Linked DNA regions of Homo sapiens: region 1 is linked to region 2. Evidence: promoter capture Hi-C in 16 types of primary human blood cells and fetal thymus (Javierre and others, 2016). All regions are on one chromosome and are shown on one strand. Each heading gives the region's core, a stretch centred on a gene start or on the middle of the fragment in contact. The rest is flanking DNA. Distances are from core to core; before and after follow the strand shown.

Evidence for each region. Contacts are between HindIII fragments. The CHiCAGO score rates a contact against its expected background, and 5 or more counts as called.
Region 1: a fragment that was not itself captured here is called in contact with the fragment with the promoter of ARL15 in region 2 in 1 of 17 cell types (total CD4 T cells); the score reaches 6.1 in total CD4 T cells.

What each region holds. Positions count from the first base shown.
Region 1 is chr5:53,097,916-53,100,615 of GRCh38, reverse strand. It overlaps MOCS2 (molybdenum cofactor synthesis 2), which reads left to right. Exons shown (of 7, transcript NM_004531.5): 6 at 82-205; 7 at 1,949-2,700. The coding sequence ends at 2,014. Among named protein-coding and RNA genes, the nearest start is that of MOCS2, 10 kb to the left of the region's middle. The HindIII fragment of the contact is 2,699 bases long and covers 84-2,700 here.
Region 2 is chr5:54,309,179-54,311,878 of GRCh38, reverse strand. It overlaps ARL15 (ARF like GTPase 15), which reads left to right and starts at 1,306. Exons shown (of 5, transcript NM_019087.3): 1 at 1,306-1,447. The coding sequence starts at 1,400. The HindIII fragment of the contact is 4,353 bases long and covers 1-2,700 here.

The sequences.
Region 1 (2,700 bases), core at 184-2,683, 1.2 Mb after region 2:
TTTTTTCATCTGTCTAGCAGATTCTTTAACACGTAGATTCAGAGATGATGGTGATTTTTTTTTCTCTTCATCTTGTTAAAGCTTGGTTCCAGTGTCAGAAGCAAGCATAATCATTGCTGTGTCCTCAGCCCACAGAGCTGCATCTCTTGAAGCTGTGAGCTATGCCATTGATACTTTAAAAGCCAAGGTGCCCATATGGAAAAAGGTAAGTTAAGAAAATAACACATTTTAGCATGTGGACCTGATTTTTCTCAGGAATTTTTAGATAAATCCCCCCATATTTATGGACTTTTTACTGACTGTAGTATCTTGTTTTCTTTATCTGTGAAATATCTTCTTTCCAAGATTTGTTAAGCATGAAAAATATGTGCCCCAAAGAATGCATGGCACACAGTAAGCCTCAATGAGTGATAACAGTGAGAATTCCTAGTCTGGACTGTTGGAGGGGTTCATACATGAAGTTATTTTCCTTGGATTATAATTCCCTTGAATTAGAGGGTCTTTCTGTTGGAGAGTGAGAATAATGCATTAGCTATTTAGGTAATGGCTAAAATAGAAATTCTTTAAAGTGAAAGAGGCTTTTCCTAGAGGTCCTTTTTAGGGAAGAAAAAAAAATGGTGAGATATTGCTCCCTCTGAGAAAATGCAGTGAGTGGATTTAAAAACAGAAATAGGAACTTCTGGCATGTTTTCTGTCAATAAGGGCAAGTAATTCTCTGGTTAAATAGAGCATTCTGATGGGATGAAAAGGCCCAACTCCCTAGTTTCTCCCCTGGTGTAGTAACATTAACAGTGGGATTGTTCTGTGGTTGCACATTCAATGTCTAGAATTGTCTAGAATTGCCTACAGCGTTGTGGTTGACAGAAAGCTGAGGAGTTAATGAACAGCTCAGTAGATGAAAAGACCAGAGCAGAGAGCCAGGGCTTTTAAAGGGCACTTCTCCCCTCCTTCCCAGGGGACCTGCCTCAGTCAGTGGTAGAAATAAGCAAGTTGGACTCATAACCAGGGCCTGGGAAATTTGATGACCATGTTTTCAGAATAAAATTGAAGCCCATTGTTAGAATACGTAGGGATTAGAGGATAGAATATGTGTGAAAGGAAACTTAGTGAAGCTCAGATATATTGTTCCCTTGCTGTGAACAAGGCTGACACAACAGGAGGCAGGCCCCCAGAGAGCGAGAGGTAGGAAGAGCATTCTAAGATCAGCTGCAAGCCTGGAAGGCAGGGGTAGCTTTCTTCACCAGGGAGGAAAGGGTGCACAGTCAGTGGACAGAAAGTAGATGGGAGCAACCCCAGAAATACAGGTAATGAGCAGGAGTTGGGGCATATTCTTGTTTTCATGCTTTGAGGACTAGTTGGGCTTCGTATTTTGCTTTTGTTTGTCCATAGAGAGTCCGAGGAAGTGCAGGAGTTCAGAGGACAGTTGAATTTGAATTCCTCTCCCTACAGAAATGGAATGTGACTAGAGAGTGAGAAGAGAAAGTGATATGTTCTCCTTACCCCTCCTTTCCACAAACTATGTAACTTCTAGTCTGGTTCTAGTCTCGGCCTGTGCTTTGAGATCATCTGTGATATAGGGAAGGGTGGCAGGTAGGTAGAGTGCATATGTCAAAGAACAGCTCATACCAGAGGGCAGCTCAAACTTGTTTAGGAACTTCTGAGAGGTGACCACTTAATTCAACAGCTAATGAAGATATCTGCCTTTGGAAAAGCATATTTAGAAATGTTGAAGTAGTAGGTATGTTTGGAAAGAAAAAAAAATGTTTAAAACTAAAGACTTTCTGTCTTCCCCTATGTAACCTTGCCCATGATGTCTCTCGTCATGATTGTTAAAAGAGGAGCCATTGAAATAGATGTGATATTCATTTGTCTGATTTATTCAAATATATTTTATATTCGTATAGTAGAATGGTCTATTTTTAATACCTGTTATGATTTTGTTTTTTAGGAAATATACGAAGAGTCATCAACTTGGAAAGGAAACAAAGAGTGCTTTTGGGCATCCAACAGTTAATCACTTATGTTTTTAGAGCATGCAATCTTAACTTTGTTAAACTATTATTATTGATCACATTTTGATTTTTTTCTCTCCACATCAGGATAGTTTACTGAAGCACAATCTCTTATACTAGTGGGACAAAAGGGAGAAAAAGGAAGCAAGATAAATGGGTATGTAGGATGAAGGGTTATTTAAAATGGAACTAAAGATAGAAGGAGGACTGTAGGAAGAAATGGAATAATTTAAATGTGAGGAAAGATATCTGTGGTAGACATGTCCTTCCATGACTAATTTCTAATTGTAACTCAACACACATTGAGGTATGGGCCCTCCTCAGTGACTTTAACTAGCTCAGAAACGTACTCCCCCACCAACCCCACCTCACCGCCCCCCATCCCGGTTCTGGGAGAGCATTGTTATTAAGGATGCATGACAGGAATGTTGGCAGAACTGGAAAGTATTAAAAAAGCATTATCAGACAGTCTTGATATTATACATTTTCAGAAATATATTAAAAATAATAAACTAAAACCCATGATTTCAAAAGTTTAAAAAGAGTATTTTCTTTTTTTTTAAATTGCCTAAAATAGTTCTCATTATGGAGATTTCTGGGATTTCAGAATCTATAATCTTACCAGAAAACTTTTTGTTGTTTTTTATTAGTTGTTAATTTTGTATCAATATACAAATCAGCACAAAAT
Region 2 (2,700 bases), core at 57-2,556:
AGGATACAAAAAAGAAAGGTGTCAGGGGGAAAGTAAAAATTCAACTCCTAAAACATCGCGTGTAGAGTCAGGCAGTCACTTCATAAAGAGTTCAGTCGATGAAGTTTCACTCTTGAAACTTTACTGTATGTATGCAAGCCCTAACTATTAATACAGGTGACAGCATCCACCTTATCTTCCATTCTCCCTAAGCCCTGAGGGTGGGGATGGGGGGGGGGGCACTCCAATCACCTGAGCCTAAGAACATAGCCTAAGAACATGTGTCTGGCATGGTCTGGTTATTTATAGCCTAAAAAAAAAAAAAGCCAGCTTCTTGTCCGATTCAGGCTTTCCCTGCCCAAACCCACTAGCTTAATGCGATATTGACATTACCAGGAAATGCATACGTCCCAAATGCATCTGCTTATAGATGTTTTTACCTCCTGAAATAATACCGGGTCACAAATACTGTTGTGTTTTTTGCAGAGAGCTTCTACTGCTCATTTAATTCAGGGGCGTTGGATTTGTGCTGAGCGTAATTTGACTCCAAGCATGCAAACTGATCAACTTCTTCCCGTGTGTTTGGGGAGTACAAGTGACTACTGCGACTCCTCAAATGTTTTTCTTTTCCTTTTCACGTGGAGGAAAGCGAATTCTCCGAAGACTGTTCGGCGTTCTACGCAGGGGTTGGAAGGGGGGTTCCTGAGTCACCTCTGGCTGCGCGGGGGGCCTGTGTGTACCCTCAGGGACACCAGGCTGGAATCGTCCACCTTACTTTCAAATGATAAAAGTGCGGAGGGTCTTTCTGCCCCTAAGTCGCGTACAGGATTGCCTGTTTACGGAGTACACTTTCACACACTTCTTTCCCGGTGGTGCAGTCTCGTGGCGGCAGAGCCTTTAGGAAGGCTCTGGGGGGAGACAAGATCAGTGGCGACCACGCCTCCCATGTTACAGCGCTCGCTTCCTACTGGGGGTTGGCGGGGACACCAAGGCTCTCCAGCCCGGGAACACGGAGTTCGGCTCCGTTGTACCCAACTGGAAAGCTGTGGAAACACAAAACTCGGGCGGCGACAGCACCAGCCGATTTTCCGCTCTCTTGGCTCTTTCTTCCGCTTGCACCGCCCCCACCCCGGCTCCTCCGCTCAGCACACAGGAACCCACATCCCCCACCACTCCCGCGTTTCTCTCCTGCCACCAGCTGGGGCCTGCCTTTTATAGGCGCCGCAGCCAATGAGCACGCTTCTTTCCTTCTGCCCGCCCGCCTGGCCAATCGCCGCGCCCCTTGTGTAATCTCCGGCTAGTCGGCTGCTTTCGGCTATTTTCGCTGTTGCTGGCTTTTTCAGGAGCTGCTCGCTCGCAGCCAGAGACGCTGCTTTTTTTTTCCGGGTTCGGAGCCGTTCCGGATGCTTTAGGCTGCCGGATGTCTGATCTCCGAATAACTGAGGCGTTTCTGTACATGGATTATCTGGTAGGTGCAGGGCAGGGGTGGCATGTCGCCTCTCGGATCTCGGCGTGCCCGATGGCCCCCTGCCTTGAGGAGCAGCCTTTTTGCTTTCTTTCTTTGGGATAGGATGCCTCTGGGGTTCTTTCTCCCGCAGCCGGCTGGTAAGCCTTTCCCTGGACTCGGAGGGGCAGCCTCCAGGGCGGGTGGGTGGTGGAGCTGACAGGTAAAGGTGCGGCCTGGGCCAGCACGGCTGCAGGGCGAGGGTCGCGCTGGGGCTGCTTGAGAGATGGGGCGGCCGCGGCGGCGCGTCCCCTGCCCGCGATCGGCTTCCTGGCTTCCCTCTGCGCTCTCCGCAGAGGACTTTCTTTCCGGGGGAGCAGGAGTTTTCCTCTCTCCCTGGAGCAGAACTCCAGGTGCTATTAAAGAGCCATAACCAGAATGGCTCACTAAGTGCCCAGCAGCCCTGGTCATTTGATTGTTATTAAATCTCTAAAGCTATGACCTCGGTCGTGGCGGGGTTTTAAAAGCACATTACCATAAAGCAGACGGGTCTAAACTACCTCGCAGGCTGGCACGAACAGGACTGAGTAGGGACAGGTATAGCCCCACCATTCCGGTCTTGGGTGCGTGCCGCGGTTCCACTGTGCACGGATTGGAACCCGGCTGTTTAGGCCAGGCTTGTGCTGAGAAGTTTAGGTGGGAAAAGTGTCAGCACAGTGCTGGGACCGAACATCATTTTAAAAATGGACTTCTATGTGTCTTTGTGGAATTATGCGAGCACCATGTTTTGTTCCAGAAATTATATTTCCCCAGAGTTGCTTGTTTGCGTTTAAGGGGATCCTCATTTACAGAGACTTGTGTTCGATCCTATACGATTATTGTGTTTACCATGTTGGGCAGAACCGCTATTGCCATGCAGAGTTGAAGTAGACGGTTAGAAACATTGACCCTCCTGTCATCTTGTTGGACACATGCACTCGGTTTTCGACTGCAGATTGGCCTGGCAGAGATTTGCCAGTGCCTTCTAGGAATTACACTTAAGGCTGTACTGAGAAAGTCTGTGCATGCTTTGATGGCCAAGAAACGCCGGACCGGCTTTGTGCTGTTATCTGTGTATTTGGGCTTATTTTAGTGTACATAAAGAAAATGTTTCTCCTAATGCTTCAGAGCTTGATGGTCTTGTGGGAAAGGATGGTGACTGCAGTTAATGCATAGCCTTGTGAATGGAGCTGGATCTAAAATTCTGAATTCAAGTTCTGTTTTGTTGTTCATTTGTT